4 separate regions of the Homo sapiens genome follow, and regions 1, 2 and 4 are each linked to region 3. Evidence: promoter capture Hi-C in 16 types of primary human blood cells and fetal thymus (Javierre and others, 2016). All regions are on one chromosome and are shown on one strand. Each heading gives the region's core, a stretch centred on a gene start or on the middle of the fragment in contact. The rest is flanking DNA. Distances are from core to core; before and after follow the strand shown. Region 1 overlaps PREP (prolyl endopeptidase). Region 2 overlaps PREP (prolyl endopeptidase). Region 3 holds the start of RTN4IP1 (reticulon 4 interacting protein 1). Region 4 holds the start of HACE1 (HECT domain and ankyrin repeat containing E3 ubiquitin protein ligase 1).

Region 1 (7,059 bases), core at 3,266-5,765, 1.2 Mb before region 3:
TCTAGAAAAGTGCTTGTTTGGGACATTTGGGACATTATTTGTAATAGTGAAAAGTTGAAAACAATCATTTCCAACAGAAGTCATTAGGCATAATATAGTGCATCTGCCTGATGAAATAGTATCACTATTAAAATTCTGGGCTGCAAAGATTGCTTTCTAACATGAAAAATTGCCATGGTAGAATATGAAGTCAGAGAAGGATGTAAGATCACAGTACTCTGAATTATTACAATTTAAAAAATATATATATTTTAAAAAAGAACAGGTCAGCATGGGAGTGGGGGCTGGCCCAGGGTTCACACCTGAGGGCCTACAAAGGCACATGGCAAGCACAGACATGAATACATTCCTTTAGCTCGCATCTGCAAAGTATTACACCCAGTCTTTTTACTTTTACTTATTTTTTAATGTGTAATTGATAACCACCTCGTCTACCTGGGTTACCCTTGACTACACACTTACTAGCTGAGTAGCCATGGACAACATATTTAATCACTCAGCACCTCAATTTCTTCATCTGTAAAATGGGGGAAATAAAAAGATATATTTCAGAATTTGAGAATTAAATGAAACAGGGAATGCAGAACTCCCGGTAAAGTGCCTGGCACATGGTAACCATCCAAGAAATGTATACCACAAAAATAGTGTATACTCCAATGTCTTAGTTTCTATCAAGTGCTGACTATAAGATCATTAATTAGCAGTTTCATCCACTAATTGGAAGCCTGATATCCACTAATAAGTGGCTTGTCATCCACGAACCTGTCATTATCAACTAAGGAACAGCAAAGTATACATTCACTAACAGATAAAACCTGGGTCATTTTGACAGTGCTAAATCACTCAATCACCATCAAAGGCTGTAGAAATCCAGGTTATAGCCGATACTTCAGGTGAAGAAATCATCAGGTCCTTAGAGACAGTTTTCCAAGAGATGCACAGGAACTTCATCCTTTCCCTGGTGCTTTCTAGCCAGTACAGGTTATGCAGGTGCATGTGACTCTCCACTCCCAGACCCAATCCCTCTGTCTCAGTCAGCCCAGTGTTGAACAATCAAGGTAATCTATGGCAGGGATGAAGTGGGGAGGTAACCCCACACCTGTTCTCTGTCCCCTCAGACTTACCTGCAGAGCTACAGCCTTCACCATTCCTAAAGATACTCAGGTGTTTCTCACTTTGGAATTTCTGCCCATCCACTACTATAACCCAGTGCTTCTGGAAAGAAAAATTAAACCCCAAATATCAACCATTCTCATCCATGAGATCTTTGTCTTTCTTGAAGGGAGTTAGAGAAAGAATGTAGGATTGCAGATAAAAGTAAAAACCATTAGGAAATCTCAAAATAGCAGTGTGCTTACTTTAGGGACAAAGGATAAAAAGAAGTTGTAAGAGCTTTGCAGTGGGCAAAGGAGAGACACTACTCACAAAGAACAGGTGAGGATAGCAGAAAGCAGGTGAGCCAGTGCTTGAGACTAAAGGAAGAAGAAAGAGATGATCATGTGGTTTACTCCCCTGCCTCTACTTTCTCTCTTTTCTCCATATACCATCATGCTCTGGCTAAGCTCTTCACTCCATCCCTTTCCTTGTCCCAGTGGGGAGATGGGCAATTCTACATCAGGAAGGGATGCTTTCCTGGCAAATCTGAATTCAGGTCTCCAGAGAACACTGGTATATACGGTGGAAAGGGACTGCAAGAAACAGGCGGAGTTAAGACACAGGCGTTTGAAGACTGGCCTGAAAAACTACCTAGAGTGCCATTTAACCTTTTTTTTTTTTAAATGGGAAACGTACCCTGCAACTCTAAAGAAGCTCGAATAAATTTTGGGATGCTGAACATATCAGAAACTGCAAATATGTACTAAGTATTATGTACTATGGTTATAAATAGAAGAATCCAAGAACTTAAGATGAACTTGAGAAACACTATTCCCCCAACCAAGCAAACTTAATTAACTACATAAAGTACACATAAATGGGCTGGGCGCGATGGTGCACACTTGTAATCCCAACACTTTGGGAGGCCGAGGCGGGAGGATCACTTGAGGCCAGGAGTTCGAGACCAGCCTGGCCAACATGGTGAAACCCCCGTCTCTACTAAAAATACAAAAACTAGCCGGGTGTGGTGGCACATGCCTGTAATCCCAGCTACTCGGGAGGCTGAGGTACAAGAATTGCTTGAACCCAGGAGGCGGAGGTTGCAGTGAGCCAAGATCGCACCAGTGCCCTACAGCCTGGGTGACAGAGTAAGACTCTGTCTACAAAAAAAAAAAAAAAAAGTATACATAAGTGACAAGTCCTAGGCACTCCAAAAAGGGAAAAATGTCTGTGGGACATAGGACTTAGGGCCACCTTCATTACTGAATGGACTTCAGCAGGATCCTTGAAATACTGTTTCTCCAAAAGAATATGAAAGCTTTATGTTTTTAGGGCAGAAAATGCTCCCCCCTGCCCCTTCACTACTTAGCTTTTGTTTCACTGTTGTTGTGTTGACATCAATAAGCAATTTAAGGACAGTGTTCAGTTTTCATGACCTAATATTCATTTCATATACAAGATTTCCTTTTCTTTGGAAAAAAATATTTAGGCAATTTTTTCCTTTAACATCATTTCTATCTAGGTTTTCATTTTTTCTTTTGGCAAAAATCAGTTTTCTTTCTGATATTTTCATTTAAAATAGCTCATCAGTGTCACTATGAACCATAAACATTATCTGAAACACTTAGGTGATCTTCTCTGGGACTAAGCCATGCTTTTGTCTTTTTCCCATAAATTATTTGACAAAAAGTAGTGGTAACAACAGGTATACTCACCATCCCATGGCAGAAAACACAGGAGAACACCAGAAAGGAAAAGCTATAGTTACTGACATTTAGAGTTTGGTGCTAGCTACTAAGGCTGCCTTATCTTTAATTAGAAACCAAATTACCTTAGTCTGTTCACTGTCGGGGTCTTCAAGCCAGGCGTAAGGGTCACAAATTTTATGACCATGATAATCCTGTACCTGTAAAAAACAAAATGAGGTATTAGATAATTACTCTCTAACCCCAATTAAAACTGGTATTTTTTTAATGTAATGGAGAAATAGGAAAGGGATGGACAAAAATGCTAATTGGCTCACTGGCAACGTGTCTGCCCAAATTACCACATGAACCAAAGTTGGCAGGTTCTCAAAGGTGTCAAGCCACCCTTCATGAAAAGAATGTTTCAGCTAGAGAGGAAAGAAAGATGAAAGGTCAGAACAGGAAACCGCTCTGTCCCTACAACACAAAACAAAGACCTGCCACTGTGCTAAAGAAACTTGAAAACGTGCTGTCAGCAGCCAAGCACAGAATGACACAATACAGTGGACAATACAGTGGGCACACAAGAAGGGCACGTCAGGGAGGGGGCTAACACACACGTGCTCATTCTCCTGTTCCGCTGAGCTTCCCAATGATTAGAAAATCTCCCTGCAATATAGCCCAGGTTTGCTTTTATGTCTAAACTGCCAAAAAGCAAGTTACTAATATGTAGTATAATGATTCTAATTGACATAAGTTCAAAAAGCTGACTTAAATGCAATGGCAAAACATTTTAAAACTAATGCCTTTCTTCCTTTTTATTTACTGTTATGAAATGCTTTTTTCCACTGTTTACAAAAAGAAGGTGCAAAAGCATCACCCATTCAGGTTACCATGATATTGGAAGAAATAAAACTGCTTAGTGTAAGTAGAACCTGGCTGAAGGAAGCTTTCTGGAGCTTCTAAGGCCTGGCCTTAGAAGCCACTTGAAGGCGTTTGAAGGAGCAAGTAGAAACAGTTTTCACCACTCCTCAAGTGATTATGCCAAAAGAAATTATCCAGCAGTAAAAATCATTACAAAATCTCTCCACCTGATACCATCAAGATTAACCCCATTAGGACAGAGTGCAGTGGCTCACAGCCATAATCCCAGCACTTTGGGAGACTGAGGCAGGCGGATCACTTGAGGTCAGGAGTTCAAGACCAGCCTGGCCAACATGCTGAAATCCTGTCTCTACTCAAAATTTAAAAATTAGCCGGGCATGGTGGCAGGTGCTGTAATCCCAGCTACTCGGGAGGCTAAGGCAGGGGAGTCTCCTGAACCCAGGAGGCAGAGGTTGCAGTGAGCTGAGACAACGCCTATTGCACTCCAGCCCGGGCAACAGAGCAAGACTTCATCTCAGAAAAAAAAAAAGATTAACCCCATTAATGAAACCACACTGACAATGTCTTGCCAATCAAGTCTCTGAACCACTCCAACATTCTAGTTAAGGCTTCTTGTATAAAGCTGTTGGGAAGACTACCTCTATCTCAGATGAATTTTTTAATCTGTCTCCTTGCTTTGTTCTACAATGCCAGAAGGTAAGGGCTATTTCCTAAAGAAAACCTAGTGCTGCTCTAGTTCCAGTGTGGCTCTGGCTGGGTGAGAACAATCTCCTTGGCCCTTACAACACCGGGCTTTCCACATCTGTCCTTGTCTGATGCCAGGTCAAAGAACTCCTGGGGAAATGCACAACTGGATAAATGGGCAGGTAAGCCAGAACACTCTGTATATATTTTCATTAAACAACTGACTGAGCAAGGGACGTAAAAACAAGAGCAAGGAACATAAAACCCGACTAAAGCCTCTCCAGATGGGTCTTCATAAAGTTACCAATTTTCAATTCTGACCTCTCTAAATTTTAGCAGATTGTCACCACCGAACAACAGCTTTTCATCTTTTCTTCTCATCTGCAAGTCTTTTACGTTTTACACACCTTGAAGTGGTTATAAAATAGGCTTAAAATAACAATCTGCTTTTCCTAGCATTAAGAAATCAGAAAATTTTGAATTGTAAAGCATCTTTCAATCATGCACTTCTAGGAGCAACAGCAGGGATAAGGCTGGGTAACATGCCCAGAACCATATCAAGTTCAGAACCAGACCTGGGACTAAAGCAGTCAGCCCACCCTTTTCCCCAAACACTCATCAGAGGGGCCAGAATAGACACTTAAAAAATGTTCCTGGATTATGTTACTAAATTCAGGCATATCTAGAATTTTACACCAAGCAGCCCTATCTGCCCAGACCGGGCACCATCATCTACAGCAGATGGAAGTTATTGATCAGATATTTTTAACTAGGACAAGAAACATTCTCTCCAGGACAATTCCAGAGTTAATCCCAGGAGCCACAACTTTCCACCTCCAATTTTTTCTAAGACCATACCCTACAAATGAGGTGGATGTGTCTTATAGCCACTTCCCTTGAATCAAATTCTTCCACCTGATTTAAGTTTGCTAATCATTCTTGATCTCCTCAAGAAGCTTTAAAAATAGAGCCCTGATAAGGTACTGTACTACTTAATCCTGTTCGATATTTTACTTGTACTGTTCAACAACTCACCCACTGCCTTCAGGATAAAGTGCAGACTCGTACACACAGCAGGCAGGACCCATCAAACCTGCCCTGCTCATCTTTCCAGCCCCATGCAAATTTATCCATCTGTTGATGGTCTGGTCAGAATCGCCTTCTTGCCACCCTACAAACAAATGCAATTCCACAACAATCCAGGCCTGCATAGCTATGGCTTTACTTTAGTCACAGGATCAGGAATGTCCTTTGTCCCTTACCCAACTGGTCAACTTCCAGACTCAATTCACATAATGCCTCCCCCTCCTGATGGAAATTAGTCCCATCCTCTTCTGTGTTCTCCTCTCACCCTAAATCCTCTTCTATCAGAGTGTGAGTCCCCTGTGACAGGCCTGAATTTCCTGATAGCAACTCTCTTAAGCAATGGTCGATGGTATTGCACAAGAAGTGTCATGGCTTCCAAATTTCTGCCCAAAAAGGCAGAACTCCACCAAAATGGTCTCAACGCTCCAAAGCTTTCAGCAGGAGAGTACTGAGCATATGGCTGAAGGTGCTCAAGTGAAAGAGACAGAGAGCTACCGCAATGCCCAGCTGATGCTGGGGAGAAACAAACCCATCCTAGAAATCAAAGGCTACCATTTAAGCAAATACCTAAGTCAAGCCTAGGGCTTAGTAACCAAAACCTTAATGCAAAAAAAAAGATACTCCACCGTAAGCTATCAAGGAGCCACACAACAAGATCCAGACTGGGCCAGAGCTACATTCCCTTGGCCACGAGGCTTAGAGTTAGCATGAGTTGCTTAATGAGAAGGAACTGGAGTGTATTAAAATCCACAGTATACCCTTCCGAGTTGTTTATAATCTTTTAGACGTCTTCATAAAATCCTCACTTAAACCTTTCATGAAATATCAAACATAAATAAACAAACTGTAGGATTTAGGCACCCACAGTGGTGAAAAACTAACAAGTAACTCTAAAAACAAACTTAAAACTGCACTTATCAAACCACAGAATGGGTAATTCTTTATATTCTGATCCTCAAGAACCAGAACCAAGAGAGTCACCTGGCTTCCCATTACTAGTCTGGAACACTGCAGAGCTAGACTGTCACATGAATGAATGAATGAATGACAACATTCCTACTGCAGAAGCAAGTAAGCCCTATGGTCAGTCCAAATATTTCTCATATGAGAAAAAAGGCCCATAACAGGTAAAAGAGCTGCTAAAAGTCACCTAACTAGTGAATGACAGAACCAGAACTAGCGCTCTGGTCTTTTCATTTAGTCCAGCCTCTTTCTCCATTCCAGCAGGATCACTTTACTCCCATATTCAAAGGAAACAACCTTTAAACCACAGGAATAGAGCTTCTTGAGCTGTTAGGGTAAATTTAATAAGCAAGCAGCTGAGCAGACTGAGAAAACATGGTTACCAGATGGCCACTGGTCAAAGAAACCATGAATGAATGCATCAGTGTCACTTGGAAGTCTTAATTTAAAACAGTATGTCCTTTACTCCGAAGCGTCAGCACCCTTTACCCCAATGTAGCACGTGCTTTAAAGTAAACACTTTCTGGCATAAATTGGGAAAGTAAACAGAAAAACATTAAAACTGTATCACACAAATACATACTTATTCTGATTATATTTTAAGTAATCTGAGAAATGTAGCTATTAGTAAGAGAATCACGGCCACAACATGTGGATGCAA
Region 2 (6,910 bases), core at 3,604-6,103, 1.2 Mb before region 3:
GGCAAGACTGCAAATATTTCAAGCTCTGTGAGCCATACAGTCTGTCACTATAATACTCAGGCCTGTAGCTGCAGCACAAAAGCAGCTATGGACAATACGTAAACCGATAAGCATGGCTGTGTCCCAATCAGACCTTATTTATAAAAATAGGTAGGCAGCCAGGGTTTGGTAGGCAGACTGTACGTTGCCGATCTCTGTAAGAATGGCAGAGGGCTGAAGAAAGTCTAAAGTAAATGTGTGATAGTGGCTCCAAAGAGATTTAATAAAAGATCAAGAAAACATCTGTAAGTGGGTGTTAACGGGACAGGAACAAGAGAAGTGAATTCACCCATTTCACCATTCTTTGACAGAAGAAAAACACAGAATTAAATGTTTCCAAGTAGTATACATCAAAGATAATTAACTTCGGAGGCAAACAAACCTCCACTGCTGTCTATGAATCATCCTATCTCACCAATTACTACCGATAAGACGACGATTTCCTATAATCTAGATTTCTTTATATGACCTATCCCTACTAAATTTCTTAACTATTATTTTAACAATTTGGACAATACCTAATAGATCAAAAATATTACTCTCATATTCAGGCATAGAAATTAATTCCTTATAATGAATTAATCTTATACAAGGACAAGTTATCTGGAATTTGTATTTTACAATTTAAGAAAGCATTTACTTTGAAAATAAAAAGGAAATTCAGTAAAAGCAGTCTCACCGTTTTCCTTTCTTGAAGTGGCAACTATACTTGGGATAATCATATAGTTCAGTCATTCTCTCTTTGTATAAACCTCTGATGGGACACTGCTCAAGAAATGGCACAGTAATCTTATTCTGGGCCTCCACAAAGGCCTGTGGAGAAATTAAAATGGACAAAGCAAGTTAAATATAAAATTTTCCATGTGAAATATTATCCACTAATATGTATCAGAAAAAGCACACTTTGTCTCTTAGCCAGTGCCTCTTCTCTCTCATTACCAGCCTCTCTCACCTCCTTACTCTTCTTCATACCTGCCCAGCTCCTGCCAAGTGACTGATTAATATGTAGTAACAACCAATGCTTACATGGTACTAACTCAGCTAATGCTTACAGGGCAAGTATTAACTTATTTAGAACTCACAATAATCCTATGGAGAAGGTCCTTTTATTAGGCCAACTTTACAGATTGGGAAACTGAGGTTTGGAGTGGTTAAAAAGTTGCCCGACATCATACAGCTAGGAAGTGGCAGATGGCAGAGTTGGCTCCCAGATCCACGCTCCTAACAAACACACTATACTGTAGCTCAGATCACACACTGCCAATAATCTGCATTTACGCAGTGCCATGGTTCCGGGATTCTTATTCAGCACCTGGCCATCCCAAGAGAAGTCAGAGTCAAAGAGAGAAAGTTAGGGATACCCAGGCGCTATTTTATCGATTTTGGCTTTGTAAGACCTACTACCATGTTAATTTCAATCAGAGAACTTTGCTAAAATTTGCAACCAAAGAACATTGAAAAAACATTGGAGGCCAGGTGCAGTGACTCATGCCTGTAATCCCAGAACTTTGGAAGGCTGAGGCGGGTGGATCACTTGAGGCCAGAAGATCGAGACCACCCTGGCCAGCATGGCGAAACCCTGTCTCTACTAAAAATACAAAAATTTGTCAGGCGTGGTGGTGGGTGCCTGTAATTCCAGCTACTCAGGGTGGCTGAGGCACAAAAATCGCTTGAATCCGGGAGGCAGAGGTTGCAGTGAGCCAAGATCGTGCCACTGCACTCCAGCCTGGGCGACACAGGGAGACTGTCTTAAAACACACACAAAAACAAAAAACACCTGAAACAAGTGGCATTGCAGAAGAATATCAGCAACATGGTTTATAAGAAAGGCAAGAGATGGCCATCAGGAAATACTGGTAGTGAAGGCAGGAAAAGGGGCTTTTACAAAAGATGAGTTGTATCCAAGCACACCCTATTTGTAACTAACCAGTTAAAAAGTTGACAATACCATAAAAACTTGGCTACTAGTAATTCACATCTGGCTATTAGCAAGAAATGAAACAAGAACATTGTATCAGCTTTAAATTCAATAGAAGATTTCATCAGATGTCTATAAATAAGTAAATCATCAGGGAAAAACTTCAGGAAATTAAGACCATAATATACTTTGAATGGCAGGGAAAAATGCATTATTATCAGAGTTCACTTTTGGATATATCATCAAACTCTAAGGGCCCATCCAAGCTCACAATGGTCTTCAAATGTGCAACAATGCTTTGGGTTCCCCTACAAAAACCACCAATCCCACTCTGCAGAACCATGATTTTGTGGTGAGACAAACTGTTCCAAAGCTCATTGATTACAATGCATTTAAAAACAAGAGACAAGGGATGTAAAGTATGAATACAGTAATTAACATTTTTGCAAGAGGACCAGTTCAAGAAAAATAAAACTGTTACAGGTCACATTTCTGATTTCATTTAAACAGAAAATAAAATTTACTGAGTCCCACAGAAATACAATTCCAACTATCACTAGGGATTGGCAATCTTCGCCCTGGCCCGCTTTCCTGTGGCTCTGGAGATCAGAATGGTTTTTGTATTTTCAAAGAGCTAGAGGGGAAAAACCAACAGAGACTTATGTGGCTTGCAACATTTAAAATATTTACTATGTGGCCCTTTACAGGAAGTTTGCTGACTGCACTTTCCCTCATTAAAAACATCAAGGAGGAAATTGGATTTTGCTTTTTAGTTATAAAATCAATGCCTATCTGAGAAACCACCCAGGGGAGCATTTTGGAGATCACCAAGTGTGTCCAAAAGCACTACTTCATTTTACAGTGGAAGAAAACACCATGCCTACTTCACAGATATGGAGATGGAGGCAAGTGGTATTAAAGTCCCCTGGTTAAGGTCATGCAGTGAGTTAGCAAAATCACTCAGAGACTGAAAAAGGATGTGGAGATGAAGCAGATCCACCCAGGAAAGAAGGAAGACGCAACCTGGGCCTCCTATGATTTTCTTCTGCATGAACTGGGCTGTGCTGGGTAGGAACATCAGGGAGCTGAAGCATCCACGTGGACTAAACACAAATCTTGTGTGTGTGTTTACACTGATCGTGGCATTGTGGATGGATAAGTGACAAGTCCAAGCTAAAATCCCTGTCATCACGGAGCTCATGCTACTGGGGACACACCCACAAAAAGCCAGAGGGTTGCAGAATGGTTGGTTCTAAGGACATACACAGGGTAATCAGCAGAGCAATGCTGCTTGATACCCAAAGTGTCAACTACAGATCAGTGTTGGCCTGAACTGTTTGCTACCAGCCCACAATGAGAAGAGTGCAGAAAACAAGAGTGAGTGCTGAAAACCTTTATGGCAATTTGACATTACTATGGCATCTTCATTATAGTTTGGAAAAACCTCAATCCACAAATGGTTTGGAAATTTACAAACCAGCCATTCCTTGCAGATCTTGAAAATCACTGGGAAAGAGGGCACCTAATTAAGCAGGGTGGTCACAAAAGCCCTTCTGAGGAGGTTTCAAATTGAGGACTGAGAGGGAGCAACCATGCAAGGTGGGGCAGAATGTTTTGGGCAGAGGAAACAGCAGGTGTGGGAGTCCTGGCAGGGGGAATAACTTGGCAGGTGTGAAGAAGAGTAAGGAGGTGAGTGAGGCTGGGAATGAGCTGAGGCCAGACGACCAGACATGAGCTACAGCAGGCGGCACCTGGTAGGCAGATATGATGTTTCGATCTCTCATCGAAGTGCAAATAAGCCATGATTGGGTAAGGAGATTTACTTTTTGAAAGATTACCGTGCTTTGGACAGAGAACAGACTATAGGGGAGCAAAAGTGGAGACAGACAGGCCAGTTAGGAGGCTGGGACAGTGGTTCGGGTGAGAGACAAGGCCAAGAGGAATGGCTGGTCTCTAAAAGGGGCAGGAACAACCATTATAATGGGAGTGGAAACAGAGAAAATGGGCACAGCACATGTTAGTTTGCAGTTTTGGCTATTTCCCAGAGGGCCTCACCAGAACATTCTAGTCAGAGCCCTAAGAAGGATTCCACACAAGACCCCAGCATGCTGAGGGTCTTGGCTGGCTCCTGCACTTCCACGGAGGGATTCTCTAAGGAGGGTACCCTGAAGATGTCATTTCCCTGATCCTTCTGATTTGCATGAGGCTGCACTTAGGCCCACGGTGGGTCCAAGGGTCAGAGGCTGCTCAACAGATTGCTCAGTTCATTTTCCTTGGAAAAGCAGAATTGTGTTCTCCAGCTGTTTCTCTATTTTGCTTTGCTTCTTTCACATGTCTCATGGTATAATTACAACTACTGCAACATAATTCATCTCACCCTGAAGCAGACACACTGGCTTTTCACATATAAAGTTTTCATAAAACTGTTATGCCAGGCATAAAAATGCTACCAAATAATTCTAGGATTAGTACATCCAATTTTGTCACCTCCTACCCACAAATGTTAGCTAATTACTTTAAATAGACCATTAAAGACTGCACTCTTCCAAGTCAAATATCTAGATGTAAAACCAGAGTGTCCAAATTCCTAAAAGTCTCAAGTTTTTTCATAACACACATCTTTATAACTCGGGCAAATCCTTTTCACGAAGGTGGTAGAAAATTTCTGTAAAGAAGCTTTGTTAAATTTAGGGTTACATAAATGCCAATAATATTTCTGATATTTTAACCAGGGAAATGCCTTCTTGGTCATTTATGTATTTAACAGGTATATCATCTTGGTTGATCTAAATATTAGAAAAAAAAATTGGGGAAAAGGGAGAAAAAGAATAAAAATAAAGAAAAAGAAAATGGAAGTGTTACATGGTGATAAGGAAGCAGGGTGAGGAAAACACAAATTCCTTGTTGTTCAAGGAGTTTCAGTACCCGCAGTCTCATTCTAGGATGTATTAAAATAACTGAAATATGAAAGCCCTGATGCACGCAGCTGAGCTTCTAAAGAGAGTCAACAGTTTAGATTTTATATCCATAGATGAATCTGAACACATTTTCCTAGCAAAGAGTAGCTGCTCAAAACTAAGAAATCTTACTTATATCTCATGTGCCTTGACTATTAGAAAGCTTAAAAGCAAAGCAAAGCTTCAGTTATGCAAGATCATTAAGTTCTAGAGATCTGCTGTACAACACTGTACCTATAGTTAGCAATACTATATTGTGCACAGAAAAATCTGTTACAAGGGTAGCTGTCATGTGAAGTGTTCGTACTGCAATTTAAAAAAGAAAAAGAAAAGCTATTTGGAAAGGGGTGGCTTAATTTGGGAGCTGAGATTCCTTTACTCCTAATGTCTTCAGAAAATTTTTTTCAAAGTGCCCTCATGTACTCTATTTTAATACACAAAATACTGCAGTCCTACGAAATAAGCCAGGCACGGAAAGATGAATACCTCATGCTCTCACTTATATGTTTTATTTAAAGGAGTCAAACTCACAGAAGCAGTAAAATGGTGTTTACCAGAGGCGGGGGTTGGGGGAGATGTTGGTAAAAGGACACAGAGTTTCAGTTAGACAGGAGAAATAAGTTCAAGAGATCTATTGTACAACATGGTAACTGCCTGAAAATTGCTAAGAGGGATTTTAAGCGTTCTCAACACACACACACACACACACACACACACACACACACACACACAAAGTATGTGAGGTAATTACACATATGTTAAATAGCTTGATTTAGCCATTTCACAATTTCTACATATATCAAAATGACGTGCTACACACCTAAATATATACAATTTTCACCTGTCAATTTGAAAAATTGACTTACGAAATACAGATACAGGCTCACTTACTGATTGCCTTAACTTTTCCCTTTCTAAATGGAAGTGTAAATTAAAAATACTGTTCACTTAAAAAAAACTCATCTTTTTACAATTCTTACATAAATGAATAAAAATTATGCCTAGAATTACTCATTAAATAAATATTTATACAAAACACTACAATGTGCACCATGGTGATTAACAAGATGAATGAAAGATAAAGATATGTGCTAGAGGAGAACAAATAAAGGGGAAGCTACTTCCAGGGCAGGGCAGGGTGGGCTGGGGCAAGTGCCATTGGCAGGCAGGCAAGACGACCAGGAGGGACTTCCAGGTAGAGACTGGCTCAGGCCCGGGTATCAACCTCCCCTCTTCTGAAATACCAATGAAAACTAAGAGTGGTGCTATCTACATCCCACAGGCTTTGAGGAGCATCTGTTACAAATAACAGATATAGGACTTGGTTAAGCAACTATCAGGGGCTTCTGGAGAAAGTGGCAAAAACCATAATCCCAGCCTAAGTGAAAGGCATGGGCGGCACACTTGGATCCCCTCTCACTTTAGCAGAATTTGGAATTTGGAAATGACTCTCCAAGTACAGGGACAGCCCCATCAAAAAGCAGCCAAGAGGCGCTCACCCTGAGGCTGTAGGACTTAGGGCCAGGAGGGCAGGACAGTCAAGGTAGGTCATGCACAAAAGAGAATTAGATGCAGCTGCTTTTCAGGAAACACGTCCAGAAATGGAAACAATAAAAGATTGGAATAATGTACTTTCCAAGGCTAATATCTATGCCAAGGAATCTCTACCATTAAAAAAAAAAAAAAAAGAGTGCTCGTAATTTTCCAGGACTTACTCAATATTTACAAAAATCAGCAGCCCATCAGACAACAAAGGGGGAATCTTAAGCCCCAGAAAGAAAAGCTTGTTCAGGTCACAGTTTTGACCACAATGCCATTAACCTCACCACATGAAGTGCTTTCTTTTCCTGGCCCACAAGCAACCCCCTACTCATTCTCAAGGTGGAGAAATATTCTAGTTCAATCAGTGAGAGCCCAAAATCTTTTGGGCTCAACTTTAACATAAAAAACCCAGAGTGGGCCCATCTCTTCTCTCTGGGACCATCTGCTCTTGGGT
Region 3 (7,338 bases), core at 3,568-6,067:
CTCACATCTGTAATCCCAGGACTTTGGGAGACCAAGGTGGGAGGATTGCTTGAGTTCAGGAGTTCAAAACCAGCCTAGAGCTCATCTCTACTAAAAATTTTAAAAATTAGCCAGGCATAGTGGTACATGCCTGTAATCCCAGCTACTCAGGAGGCTGAGGCAGGAGGATTGCTTGAGCCCAGGAGTTTGAGACTGCAGTGAGCCATGATCACACCACTGCACTCCAGCCCAGGTGACAAAGCAAAGCTCTGTCTCAAAAAAAAAAAAAAAAGAAAAAGAAAAAGAAAAAGAAAAAGAATACTTATATAAATATCAGCTAAATAAAACTGAAAACATTCTTTTAATTTTTTGGTTCAAGTAAATTTGCTACTCTATAATAATCCAGAGTAATTTATTACATGGCTTCCATATACAACGTGACTTTTCTCAGACCCAAAAGTATCTGTTATTCTCTCTTCTGCTTGACCTTTTTTTGAGAACCTGTCTGCCATGTGAGGCTTTCCATGATAGGCACCCTGCCTACCTCTCCAGTGTCATGTACCACTCACTCCCTGCCCCACAACGCATGCTCCACAGTCACTAACCCACTCTGTACGTCTCCCCTTGCCCCGCACCCACTCCTGTGGGCAATCCATTAGATCTTAGGGATGAGGAGAAAGCAGCAAAGGAGACTAAGGCGGCAGTTTAAAGACATTCAATGCTGCTGACGGGAGACAGGTTTTCAAATAAGGTCCAAAGATGCTAAGAGGCTTTAAAACAAACAAACAAGCCTGGATCTAACAGACCTTTGGTAACCCTGCCAGGAGCAACTGCTGTGTAGTGCACTTTTGAGAGAATGGGAAATAAGGGACTGGAGACATGAGAAGACTGAACTCTCTTTAAAACAGTTTTGTTGCAAAGGGAGCAGAGAAATGGAGCAGTAGCTCGAAGTGGGAACTGGGATGGACAGAGGACTTTTGAGTGGCTTTTTTCTTTTTTTTCTTTTTTTTTTTTTTTTTTTTGAGACAGAGTCTTGCTCTGTTGCCCAGGCTGGAGTGCAATGGCGTGATCTCGGCTCACTGCAACTTCCGCCTCCCGGGTTCAAGCGATTCTGCTGTCTCAGCCTCCTGAGTAGCTGGGATTACAGGCATGCGCCACCACGCCTGGCTAATTTTTAGTAGAGACGGGGTTTCTCCATGTTGATCAGGATGGTCTCGAACTCCTGATCTCAGGTGATCCACCTGCCTCGGCCTCCCAAAGTGCTGGAATTACAGGTGTGAGCCACTGTGCCCAGCCTTTTCCTTCTTCTTAAGAAAGGAGAAATAACAGCAAGTCTGTATACTAATGGAGATGATCCAGTAGAAAAGAAAAGACTGATGATGCAGGAGACACCTGCCGGAATGATATCCCAGAGTAGGTGAGGGGGATGGGATCAGAAACACAAGCCGAGGGCTGGCCTTATGTGAAAGCAGTGACAGCTAATCCATACAGCAGGAGGGAAGGTAGAAGATACCGAGAGAGATGCTGACAGGTGGGTAGCTTGCATGAGTTGTGTTACTAATAAAAAATCAAGACACATGGGATAAAGTGTTTGAAAGGTGGGAAAGTCCCAGAAAATCTAAGCTGATGGCCATTATACCAACATTACAACATTTGCCATCTGGGGAGTCAGGATTATACTCTGTCAGGGAAAAAAAAAACAACTTCACTTGTAATATTCACAAAAGTCATGTGCTTCACTTTTCCTGCCTTACATTCCTTTTCCACTGCTAAAGATAATTAAACAATTATTCACTGAAACTTCTATGTGGTTTGAACAACAGAAGTGGACATTTAGTCGTGTCAAACTTTAGCTGCTGTTTAAGAGCTGCAGAAAGGTTTCAGTCCTCTTTGAGATACAGAGCCTGCAGCCCAAGGTTGTTTTTAGTTTTCTTGGTCCCCTGATAATGCTAATACATCAACTGAGTAGCCTTGGCTCACTGTTACTATCTAACAAGCCCCTGAACCCAGAATGTAGTCAGCTGGCAGTTAGTAATTGAGAACCTGTTTGGTGACACGGATGACTGAATGGGGCCCTTAAGTGTTCCATCCTATTGACAGGGGTTGACACCTTGACTTGTTCAGAGAGTTGGGCCAATTTGAAAAATCCTAAATCTGTCATCAGTTTAAAGACTTTAATCCCATCTAAAGACACCAAACTTTGTTGGTATGATGCTGTTGGCTGCATTTTTTCCCCATGTAAAAATTCTTCATTTCTTTAGCCATTTCTATGATTTATTATTTTACGTCCAACAGTAGTGGCCGTCTCCAGAAAAACAGCCAGCCTTCATCTTTCAAATAAAATAGACATGTCTCTTGCTTTCTTGCCAAGGGAAATAACTGCTTCCTACAGTTTACAGTCTTCTACTCATTATTTTATTTCCCCAAGCTACTGTTTCAGATATCTTCTGCAATGACAATAAATATCCTCAAAAGGTAGGAGAAAAAAAAAAAGAGGATAACTTGCGAATAATATTACCCATTCAAGTCATAAAAAACTAAGATGTTTCAAGAATACTATATAAAAGTAAAATGTTTTACAGTGTTATATTATTAAACAGCAGCCAAGAAAAGTCTAGATACAGCCATTCTGTTTAAATGAAAATGTACACGGCATGAATTACGCATGTGCATTTAAAGAAATAAAAAGCTAACAGACCTAAACGAAGACAAAATGTAAAAATTACTCATAGATAAAATACTGCTAATTTAAGTTTGTTATCTTAAGTCAGAACAAAAATATAAAAAGGCATAGAAATAGTGACTGAATGACAACTGCGTATGTGAAGCACTGAAACAGGTTGACAAAGCATGGGATCAATCTTGAAAGAACTTACAATCAAAGGAGATGAAAAAACATGCTGATCATTGAGTAAAACTTACCACTAAAAGACATATCTTATAAAAAACTGAATTCTCTTCAAGCCTAATATAAAAAGAATAAAGGAAAACGGCATGCCCAACTGGTAGTAGCAATTACTACTTCAAAACAAAGAATACAAACGTAGACTTCATGAGACAATCACAGTAAAGTCATTTCAATGCTTTTTTTTTTTTTTTTTTTTTTTTTTTTGAGATGGAGTCTCACTCTATCGGCAGGCTGGAGTGCAAGGGCGCGTTCTTGGCTCACTGCAACCTCCGCCTTCCGGATTCAAGCGATTCTCCTGCCTCAGCCTCCCACCAACACAGTGAAACTCCCGTTTCTATAAAAATACAAAAATTAGCTGGGTGTGGCGGCGCATGTCTGTAGTCCCAGCTACTTGGGAGGCTGAAGCAGGAGAATCGCTTGAACCCGGAAGGCGGAGGTTGCAGTGAGCCAGGAAAGCGCCCTTGCACTCCAGCCTGCCGATAGAGTGAGACTCTGTCTCAAAAACAAACAAAAAACCCCATAAATTCTAAACTGACTAGGAAACAACTATACTTCCGAAGCCTGTGACGGATCTCAGAATACCACAAAGTTCCCTGGACAGAAATTTAGCTACAAACATAGGCAGGGCGCAATGGCTCGTCTGTAATCCCAGCACTTAGGGGGCGGAGGCAGAGGATCGCCTGAGGTCAGGAGTTCGAGACCAGCCTGACCAACATAGTGAAACCCCATCTCTACTAAAAATACAAAAAATTAGCCCGGTGTGGTGGCATGCGCCTGTAATCCCAGCTACTCGGGAGGCTGAGGCAGGAGAAATTGCTTGAACCCAGGATGCGGAGGTTGCAGTGAGCTGAGATCAGGCCACCGCACTCTAGCCTGGGTGACAGAGTGAGACTCAGTCTCAAAAAAAAAAAAGTTAGCTACAGACACAGTTCTCAAGTCTGAACTTACATATTTAAGGACGCATGAAAACAATCAAGCTTATATTTTGTCAATACAAATGGCCAGAAGGATTCCCTGGCCATTGCAATTTCAAAAATTTTGGAAATATTTGCAGAGGTATTGTTAAAAACCTAAATGATTCATTTATGTAAACCAAAGAAGCGTAGTCAATTTTTTAAAACGGCATACCTTATGAAAGTGATTTTTTTAAAAAAGGTAACAATGTCTTTTGAAAACTTACTTCTCATATTAACGTCTATAGGATTTACACTGGCAGCGTGAACTTTGACAATGACTTCATTTGGATAGTGTATGATAGGCATCATCATGTTCTGAGTGAATCGAAGCACTTCATTCTTCCCATATTTATCTATCACCCAAGCAGGCATGACAGTGCTCCTAGGAGAGGTAGTACTAATCCTTCTAACTGAAGGCTTTTGGACAACTTTGCTTCTCCAGAAGCAAACCGCAGTGCATGCATTTCTTCTAAGTACACAAGTCTTCAGAAATTCCATTGTAAACACTGGTTGAACTGCGTGCTCAAATTCAAATACACTTGGACTGGATCAAACTCTCACCCCTGAATTCAGTCAAATTCTGCCAAACCACGGGCTAGTTTCAAAATTAAGCATGCAAAACGGAGCATTCGAAAATGAAGCTAATCTAATGGAGAAACTGAAAGAAGAATACGGAACTGTTATTCCGCTCTTCGCATATGAAATGCTCGAATTAACGTTCCAGTCAGTATTCTGTCCATTCTCCTCCCTCACTTTCACCCCCTCCACTTTAAAAAAAAAAGGGGGGGCGGGGCATTAAAAAGCAGGTGCGCAAACCCCCTAGATCCCTGCCCTGTCCTGGGAGCCCTCGGCGGGACAAGCAGACACCGCTCGCGATCCAACGCCAGAGAATCGAACGCTTGCCGACTGCCGCCGCGACCCTGGCCCGGAATCTCCTTGCCTGCCCGCTCTCCTTAGCCGCCGGGATGGCTTTGCGGCGCCAACCAATCGCCTACAAAGATCATTTCCTCGGGCTGCAATTCAACCAATCCAAGTACTCGGTGTTGAAGGGCTCAGTGACAATTAAAGATGGCTGCGCCCATGTAACATCACTAGCGACCGGTGACCTCTTTTTCCCCCTTGCCTGGCTCCTGTGGTGGCAGGCTGGGCACGAGGACCATGCTGGGCCGGAGCCTCCGAGAAGTGAGTGGAATTGGCCCGCTGAGGCCCCCGGGAGGGCGGAAAGTTTAACGGACTTCGTTGACAAAGAGTCCCTGGGCCTTACCACGCATCTTGGCCCACCTCGCTGCTTCCTCTAGAACTGAGTGGGGGATAAGTACCTTTCGATTCTTCGGGTGTACTCGCCGTACCCATTCAGGAGTTAGGACCTTAGCAGGGAAATCTCTGCACCGCGGATCTGTAGGGTGGTGAAGCGGCTTCTCACCATTAGACATTTGCTCTGGTGTAGGTCGGGATCCGGATGGTCTCGGAGTGGGCTTTGCCAAAGGGGGCTTGCGGGGCCACTTCAGTCTCTCTTCTGTCCCCGACACTTAGCTGCAGTTGTCGCTAAGAAGCCCGGCGAAACTGTAGTTTGCAAAATTCAAATGAGTAATTTTTGGCTTTTTTCAAAGAATTCGTTCTCTAGGATTTACCTACCACTAAGATACCAGTGATTTCCTAACCCGTGTCTCCATGTCCTGGACGTCGTGTTTGAATTCTAGACTGTATTTGTGAATGCTTTCTGGGCAGTTCTTCTAAATGTCACATAAGCACCCTCAAATTCACTTTAATCGGTGTTGAAGTAATCATTGTAACAGGACTTACCTCTCAACCCCCGTCTTAAAAAAGCTCTGGTATTTCTGAATTCTTAATAGACTCTTTTTAATGGCACAACTATTATCTCATTTGCCTTTAGATTCTTCCTCATCTTTCATATCCAATAAATCACTAAGCCCTCTTCATTCTATCTTGCAGATATGGCTGGAATCTGCCCTCTTACGTTATTTCTGCTGTTATAGCTTTAATTCGGGTCTTTTTGCTTCCTGGTTCACGTCACTCAACCTTAGAACTGTCTGCAGGCCCATTGCTATCAGAGTCACATAAAGCACCTGTTGAAACTAAAACTATGCCCCACTCTAGACTTAATTAGAGCTGTGTGGTAAGTTCGGGAGTATGGTTTAATGGAGGCTCCAGGTGATTTCTGGTAAGAAGTAGGCGCTGATGACCTAAACTGCCTTCCATCTTCCTTTTTATTCCACCCTAGAAGTTGTCGTTTTGTTTGTTTCCCAGCTGGCAGCGTGGAATTATAATTATAGATAGCTGTAATATATAATGAGAAATTGAAATCCACAGGCTTTAAATAATAGTTCTTCCCCCAAAATACATTATTATGTTATCATTTTAAATTGCGTCGAATCAAATTTGTTCTTTAAAAAATAAATATGCCCGGCGCGGTGGCTCACGCCTGTAATCCCAGCACTTTGGGAGGCCGAGGCGGGTGGATCACGAGGTCAGGAGATCGAGACCATCCTGGCTAACACGGTGAAACCCCATTTCTACTAAATATACAAAAAATTAGCCGGGCGTAGTGGCGGGCGCCTGTAGTCCCAGCTACTCGGGAGGCTGAGGCAGGAGAATGGCGTGAACCCGGGAGGCGGAGCTTGCAGTGAGCCAAGATCACGCCACTGCACTCCAGCCTGGGCGGCAGAGCAAGACTCCGTCTCAAAAAATAAATAAATAAAATAAAAATAAATAAACAGACAACACCCAAAACTTGTTTTAAAATTAAATACAACCTATAAAAATATGTTATTTCCTTTTTCTGCCTTTTCCACTGTCAATCTAAGTAACAGAAAGAGACTCTAAAGAAAATATTTATTTTGGAGTAGCAATGCAATGGGAATATGTGTAATATTGTAAACTATGTGCCTATTCAAGAAGGTTGAGGCAAGGGATGTTTTTAAAGACAGAATGAGAAGGATTACTTAAATTATTTTGAATCAGTTATCCTTGGCCACAAGGATCAGTCACAAAGGTGGCATCAGTCCAAGGTTGGATGGCCAGTTGCTGGACAGACATTCTTACAGAAGTACTCGTGTGTGTGGAAGGTTGCAATGGCCTTTGTGCAAGGTTGTGTTTTTTGCAGTCTTATGATTGTTTTTAAAAAAAAATTTTAATGGGTACATAGTAGGTGTATGTATTTATGGGGCACATGAGATATTTTGATACAGGCATACAATGCATAATAATCACATCAGAGTAAATGGTGTATCCATCACCTCAAGCATTTATCATTTCTTTGTGTTACAAACGTTCCAGTTATACTCTTTTAGTTATTTTTAAACGTACAATAAACTATTGTTGACTGTAATCACCTGCTGTGCTATCAAATACTGTATCTTATTCATTCTGTCTAACTATATTTTGTACCCATTACCCATCCCCACTTCCCACCCCTACTACTACCCTTTCAGGCCTCTAGTAACCATCATTCTACTCTACCTCCACGAGGTCAAT
Region 4 (7,402 bases), core at 4,619-7,118, 1.8 Mb before region 3:
GAAACCTCGGAAAGCAAAGCTGCAGATGAGGGTGGACTACTGTTCTTGCCAAAAATGCATAACTTCAATCTAATCATGAGAAAATGTCAGAAAAGCCCAAATTAAAGGGAATTCCACAAAACACCTGATCAGTCCTCTTTAAAAGTCTCACGACCGTTAAACACAAAGAAAAACTAAAGAACTATCACAGTTTGGAGGAGACTAAAGAAACATAACTAAAGGCAATGTGGTATCCTGAATTGGATCCGTAAATGACATTAGTGGGAAAGCTGGTGAAATTTTAACAAACTCTGTAGTATAGTTAATAGTATACACAAATGTTAATTTCTTATTTTTGACAACTGTACTGTGGTTGTACAAGATGTTAACCTTAGGGAAAGGTGAGTGGAAGTTACATGGGAGGAACTCTGGGCTATTCATGTAAGTTTTCTGTAAGTTTAAAATTACTTTAAAAAATACTTATTTTAAAAGGAGGAGGAACTGTCATACATTAAGAGTCTTAAGAGACACATCAACCATACGTAATATGTAGTCCTTATCTGGATAGTGATTCAAAAAAAAAAACTGTAAAAGGACATTTTTGAGACAATTTTTGAGATGAGGACAAACTGTATATGGACTTGGTATTTTATTTCAAGATAATACAATATTACTGTTAATTGTATTGGCTCTAGTAATGGTATTATAATTGTGTTTGAAAAACATAATTCATATGTTTAGAAATATAAACTGAGCTATTTATAGGGGAAATGGAAAAAAGTTATCAATATTCCTTCACATATTTGTTCATTATTTTACTGTGAGTGTATACATGAAAAACAATTTAGTCCTTGGCAACATTCACAAGTTCAGTATGCAGATGCAACAACTTTTTCACTATAAAAGTAAAATACTAATAAATCCTATTAATAACATTTAAGAACCATTATCTTAAAGGCACTTTTCTAAACACTTTGCATGTATCATTGCTTTTCTCCTCACAACCACCCTATGAAGTAGGTACTATTATCCTCATTTTACAAATGAGAAAACTGAAGTACTAGTTAAGTAACAAGCTGTGTAACAGTGGCATTATGTGGCTGATTCCAGAGCCTCTACAAATAATATATCCTGGCTGGGTGCAGTGGCTCACGCCTGTAATCCCAGCACTTTGGGAGGCCAAGTCAGGCAGATCACAAGGTCAGGAGATCAAGACCATCCTGGCTAACAAGGTGAAACCCCATCTCTACTAAAAATACAAAAATTAGCCGGGTATGGTGGCAGGCACCTGTAGTTCCAGCTACTCGGGAGGTCGAGGTAGGAGAATGGCGTGAACCCAGGAGGCAGAGCTTGCAATGAGCCGAGATCATGCCACTGCACTCTAGCCTGGGCAACAGAGCGAGACTCCATCTCGGAAAAAAAAATAAAAAATAAAGATAAAAAATAAAAAGATAATATATCCTACAATGCACCCAGTATATACCACATAACCAGAAGGTCTACAATAGAATACTATTCTTAATATGTAAAATAGACTCTGTTTTATCCTCTTATATTTCTTTTTTTAAATGCTGACTGCAACCCACTAATTGCTCTCAGAAACTACCAATGAGTCACCACCAGGAGTTGAAAATACTACACTAAGCCTCCCTTGGCATGACAACATTCTTTATCGTTCATATAATAATACATGTCCCAATAAAAATCTGAACTTCTAAACCATGAGAATTTCCATTAAGTCACCCCATAATAAAGTCATAAAAAACACTGTTATTTGTGGGTTTAAACTTAAATCAAGATAAACTTTAAATCAAGATAGTGCATAATTTTAAGTGAGCGTTAGTGAGCATAATAAGGTTCACAATGGTTGTACTTGTAAGGTTTTTATTTTTTAGATAAAAATTAGATTTACATCTTAAGTCACATCTAACCTAAAGAAAAAAGTAGGTCACATACATTAACAGGTAAGTATGAAGAAATAAATCTAACCACAACTGTGGTGCTAGAAGAAGACTATCCAAGAAATACTATACTAAGAAAGGACAGAATACAATTTGTTGCCAGATACTTCCTTGTCTACTCTTGAAGACACCTTCAGGATTAGGTATATAATTAAAGTCTCCAGGGTGACAAGAAAAGTTTAATCTATCACTTTATTAGACATGTTTGCCATTTTTATCACTACAGTTTCAAAACCCAACTGTTAACAAAAAAAAGGTGCTCAGAGTAATTAATTATATACAATTTCTCTTCAAACCATCACATGGAGTAATTTTTTTAAACACAATTATCCCAATCACATATGCTAAAATGGGCTCAAATTTTATTATTTTATTAAACAAACTGCATTCACTATATAGTAGTTCAAACTTTACATACACTAACAACATACACCTTCCTTTTATTTATGTGTTTTTTTTTTGAGACTGAGTTTCGCTCTTGATGTCCAGGCTGGAATGCAGTGGCGCGATCTTGGCTCACTGCAACCTCCGCCTCCCAGGTTCAAGCAATTCTCCTGCCTCAGCCTCCCAAGTAGCTGGGATTACAGGCACCCGCCACCACATCCAGCTAATTTTTTGTATTTTTAGTAGAGCCGGGGGTTCACCATGTTAGCCAGCTGGTCTCACACTCCTGACCTCAGGTGATCCACCCACGTCGGCCTCCCAAAGTGCTGGGATTACAGGTGTGAGCCACTGCGCCCGGCCTCCAACTTTTAAACACTACTAAGAATCCATATCCCTAAAGTAATTTCTTACTCTTCACCTCTTTTTCTCTCAAGAATATTCCTGTGTTAGGCCTGCCTAGGAGGACTCAACTACCTGCACTCCATTACTTAGGGTAATACTCAGGTTTTCATCATCTCAAGGAAACATAGCATCCAACTCAGTTTATCAAACATCTATAGTTTCAACCTTTGCAACAAAATTAATTTTAGAGTACAAGCTGACTAAAAAGTTTACAAGTTTAATAGTTTGTTGTAATTAGATGCTTATTGATTACTGAATTCTAACAAAGCAAAAAAAATCTGATTATTTTCTAAATTTAGAGAGATCTCAGAGTTTCCATTCAGCTCTTAAAATGTAAGCACAAATGTGGATTTGTATCAGTAGGAATGTTATATATATATTTACATATATATATTTATTTACATATATATTTACATATATATTTACATATATATATATATATTCCTATATGTATGATATACTTTAAAGAGCCAAGCTCAGAGAATTCAAAGACTCATCAGAGCTTAGAGACAAAGATAAATTAAATTCAAGGAACAAAATGAACATTATAATCAAAGAAAAGCAAATGCAAACGATGCCATTTTTGCCTATGTGGAAAAGTTTTACTTTTACTAATAATACTCTAGTTTCTGGGCACTCTCGGACTGCTGGTGGAACTTTCCAAGGAGTAAGTTGAGAAACTGATATGTTGAGCCTTAGAAATGTATTGTAGATATTCTTCTTGTAAGAATTAACCCTAAGGAAGTATTTAGAGGCAGACTATGTCTTAAATACAAAGCTGTTTCTCATAAAATCAGTTTAAAAACAGTATTTAGATTCAACATTTGTTACATGCATCCTATGAAATTCTGAAGTCATTAAGCCTATTGAAGAATACAAAAAAAAAAAAACATTTGGGGCGGGGCACGGTGGCTCACGCCTGTAATCCCCCAGCACTTTGGGAGGCCGAGGCGGGCAGATCACGAGGTCAGGCGATCGAGACCATCCTAGCTAACACGGTGAAACCCCGTCTCTACTAAAAATACAAAAAATTAGCCGGGCCTGGTGGCAGGGGCCTGTAGTCCCAACTACTGGGAAGGCTGAGGCAGGAGAATAGCGTGAACCCCGGAGGCAGAGCTTGCAGTGAGTCGAGATGGCGCCACTGCACTCCAGCCTGGGCGACAGAGTGAGACTCCGTCTCAAAAAAAAAAAAAAAAAAGGATGTTTTCTAAACACAAAATAAAAGACTATATGCAACATGATTTTAACTTGTTAGGGAGGGAAAAAGAAATAACAATGGTAACACTGTTTATAACTGGATGGTGAAATGACATATTTTTTTCTATTTTTCTTTATTTTCCAAATTTTCTACAATGAAACTATATTACTTTTAAAACCAAGTAACATTATCAAAGTCTTCTAAATCACATTTATGTAAAAAATATCGGGATTCAAACTAGACAATATAAATTATACATGTAGTCTTCATAAAGCTATACCAATAATTCGACTACGAAAAATAAGTAAGAGTAGCACTTAAGAAATGGATTCAAAGGTGGAAGTTGGAAAGAAAATATAGAAAAAGTTGAAGCTAGAATCTAGTTACCAAAATCTGAATTCTAAATAGAGACTAGAGACCATTTTTTCAAGAAGATTATCCCCAGGCCAGGCGCGGTGGCTCACATCTGTAATCCCAACACTTTGGGGGGAGCAGGGTGCGGATCACTTGAGCCCAGGAGTTCAAGACCAGCCTGGGGAACATAGTGAGACCTCATCTCTATAAAAGAAAGGAAAGAAAATTATCGCCAAAGTACCCAATCCCACATTTCTTTCATGACCGTCTGCCAAGGTCTCCTTCCCTATCCTACAAACCACCCAGCAGCAATTCAAAGAGAGTTTTGAAAAAGTAAGATAAACTACTACAATTAAGAAAAAAGCTATTCACCAGCTACAACCTCCTCCCAACCCTTCTCTCACTTGGGCATAAAGAGCCAAAAGCTTCTTAGAAGCAGCACTGCTGTCTCCCATCACCACTAAAATGTCTGAATTCCTGACGCTGCAAACAAAACTGCTTATTTTCTCTCCTTGTTATTAGCAGAGTTTTACCTGTCCTGAGGGAACCCTGGCACGCTGAACTAAAAGTCCTGATCCTCAGGGACCATGCCTTATTCCTCTTTGCAGATGCGTCCTAGTTACCAGCTAGCCCACTCAATACTAGTCTGATGAATAAATGAAGAATGAAGGCAGGCATGCATATTAAAGAAAAATATATTGTGTTTACCCATACAGTACTTTAAGAGTACCTGTTTGATGTTTGACAACCCTTTGTTTGCCTGTTATCAAAACAAGGCAGTGCCCCACATTTTAAAAAATAACAAAAATAAAAGCCCGCCTGGCCCCCCGATGCAGCTTAAAGTAAACAGTATCTTTGGATCATCTCTATCCCCAGCTACTGTTAAATGACCCGCAATTATGATGTTTTCTGACTCCGGGTCTCGGGCCTCCGGCTGGTATTCCTGCCCCTTTGCCAAGACCCCTAATCGACAGACGTTGCGAGACCTTTGTCTCGCTCCTCCCAGCAGCGGAACCCCCACCAACCCAGTTTCCTCCCGAAAACTCCCACCTGCCGGGGTGGGAGCGTCGGGCCAGGGGAGTTCGGGGCCCGGGGCCGCCTCTCAGCTCTGGAAAGTAAAAGTGGGCGTTTTCTCAGCTTTCAGTTAGTTTTTCCACCCGACCTTGACGCGGCCGGAGCTCCTGCCCCACTGGCCGCCCCCAGCCCCGCGGCCAGCCTGGCCCCGCGACCCGGCTCACCCTCGGGCAACTCCACGGTGCGCGCGCGGCGCAGCGAGCGCGTCAGGCGGTTGAGTTGCTCCATCGCTCTCTCCATCCTCGGCGCGCCCTCCGCGATCCTCCGCGATCAGCCGCCCCACCGGCGGCCTCCGCGCCCAGAGCCCTACATCTCGCCTGGGCCCGTCCAGCAGGCGGAGACGCGGGCTTGCCCCGGCTAGAGCACTGAGCTGCGAGGGCTGCCTGGGGCCACGTCCTGCGTCCGGGGGCCGGGCTGCTGCCGGACCGACCACCTACAGTACACCCGCCGCCGCCTCTGCTCGCGCCTTTCCTGCAGCCCCCGCCGCCGCGTCCCTCCCGGGCTCGCGTGGCCTTCTGGGAACTGTAGTTTCCAGCTGGCAGAACGGAGCGCCCTGGGCGGAGTCACGTTGGGGGCGCCCAGGCCACGCCAACGCGGGCGCAGGGCTGAGTATGCGGGAAGCCACGCAGCGACTGGGCGTACTCCTAAGCTTCTGGAAAGGCATTCTCACGCCCTGCTCCTCCTACCCTCCTCCAAAGTTGTACAGGAGCAGTTTCCTCCAATTCTATAACTTTACTATAAAACAGATTAGAAATTGGCACAATTGTTCTTAAATCCGTCACCACCTTTCTAGTACTGTATTAGTGCCTTTGTTTCAGGTACCCTACATGAACTGTTTTAAGTATGGTATTTTCATATGTCAAACTTAAAGAGTAATAAAATCAAACAAATCCAAAAGCATATTGTGCTTTTGTCTTCATTGTAAATAACTTGACAATAGCTTAATTAGTTGTTTTTCCTGCCGGGCGGCTTTATGAGGGCAGGGACATTTAATCTTGAACTGTGTTGTATCCCTGTACTTAACAAGGCACCTAGCACAAAGTTAAAGCTCTGGGGAAGATATGAATGATGACAACCTGAAAAAATTTTTTCATTTATTTGGTACAATGCTAAAGTGTCTATGTGATGACACAGCCTAGTGGGAAATCCAAAGGATTTGACTTTGTAAGTTACAAAAAATTTGGATACCTACATTGTGGAAGAAATGAACTCAGTGGCGAAAAATCATATTCATAAGCTCTGCACAGAAGTTGAACACTTGAAACAACAGAAGTTGGAACTTCAAAAAATTAACCCAATCAAAGGGGTAAATGTGAGCCTGGCTAACACCAATATATCTTGGATATATTACCAGTGCCAAGATGATGCTGGAGTGAGGGAGAAACAAAAGGCTTGTCTTTTTCAGCTTCTCTTCCTCAAAGAGACAAAGCTGTTCCTGAAATGAATGGGCACATGTACGTTGATGATGTATGTTGGCTGGCCAAGTGAAAGAGAGTCTCACCTGCCCATTCAGGATATGAAGGGGCAGATGGTGGTTGGCATGTGTTTTCCCTGCCAGTGCCGTCCTAAATCAGTTCCAGCTAGTGACCATTTGTGCCAGTGGTGCCACAGGCACGGGGAAGACCTCTGTAATCTTCACCTAATCAGATGATACCTAAACCAGTCTGGCAACAAGGTGGTAGAGGTCAAAGTTTCAAAAGAATACCAGAGGCTGGGCGCAGTGGCTCATGCCTGTAATCCCAGCACTTTGTGAGGCCAAGGCAGGCGGATCACTTGAGGTCAGGAGTTTGAGACCAGCCTGGCCAACATGGTAAAACCCTGTCTCTACTAAAAATATGTATATACAAAAATTAGCCGGGCGTGGTGGTGTGCCTCTGAAATCCCAGCTACTCGGGAGGCTTAGGCAGGAGAATCGCTTGAACCCGAGAGACAGAGGCTGCAGTGAGCTGAGATCCTGCCATTGCACTCCAGCCTGGGTGACAGAGCGAGACCCTGTCTCAAAAAAAAAGGAAAGGAAGAAAGAAATACCAGACGTTATGGACCAGTCTAG

The links. The method cuts DNA at HindIII sites, captures the fragments that hold promoters and counts their contacts. A CHiCAGO score of 5 or more calls a contact.
Region 1: a fragment that was not itself captured here is called in contact with the fragment with the promoter of RTN4IP1 in region 3 in 4 of 17 cell types (activated CD4 T cells, total CD8 T cells, non-activated CD4 T cells and 1 more); the score reaches 8.1 in activated CD4 T cells.
Region 2: a fragment that was not itself captured here is called in contact with the fragment with the promoter of RTN4IP1 in region 3 in 1 of 17 cell types (activated CD4 T cells); the score reaches 5.1 in activated CD4 T cells.
Region 4: a contact is called between the fragment with the promoter of HACE1 here and the fragment with the promoter of RTN4IP1 in region 3, in 4 of 17 cell types (total CD4 T cells, non-activated CD4 T cells, fetal thymus and 1 more). The highest score is 12.1, in total CD4 T cells.

Annotation. Positions count from the first base shown.
Region 1 is chr6:105,394,927-105,401,985 of GRCh38, forward strand. It overlaps PREP (prolyl endopeptidase), which reads right to left. Exons shown (of 15, transcript NM_002726.5): 2 at 2,927-3,001. Among named protein-coding and RNA genes, the nearest start is that of PREP, 4.6 kb to the right of the region's middle. RefSeq lists an enhancer at 2,974-3,736. The HindIII fragment of the contact is 1,576 bases long and covers 3,728-5,303 here.
Region 2 is chr6:105,376,668-105,383,577 of GRCh38, forward strand. PREP (prolyl endopeptidase) reads right to left here. Exons shown (of 15, transcript NM_002726.5): 3 at 719-852. Among named protein-coding and RNA genes, the nearest start is that of PREP, 23 kb to the right of the region's middle. The HindIII fragment of the contact is 444 bases long and covers 4,632-5,075 here.
Region 3 is chr6:106,624,681-106,632,018 of GRCh38, forward strand. RTN4IP1 (reticulon 4 interacting protein 1) reads right to left here and starts at 4,818. Exons shown (of 9, transcript NM_032730.5): 1 at 4,068-4,818. The coding sequence starts at 4,341. QRSL1 (glutaminyl-tRNA amidotransferase subunit QRSL1) reads left to right here and starts at 4,898. Exons shown (of 11, transcript NM_018292.5): 1 at 4,898-5,025. The coding sequence starts at 5,002. RefSeq lists enhancers at 4,900-5,039, 5,070-5,129. The HindIII fragment of the contact is 4,979 bases long and covers 3,863-7,338 here.
Region 4 is chr6:104,854,051-104,861,452 of GRCh38, forward strand. HACE1 (HECT domain and ankyrin repeat containing E3 ubiquitin protein ligase 1) reads right to left here and starts at 5,869. Exons shown (of 24, transcript NM_020771.4): 1 at 5,517-5,869. The coding sequence starts at 5,592. It also overlaps the pseudogene LOC100422315. RefSeq lists a silencer at 5,298-5,927 and enhancers at 5,550-6,049, 5,664-5,958. The HindIII fragment of the contact is 1,298 bases long and covers 4,702-5,999 here.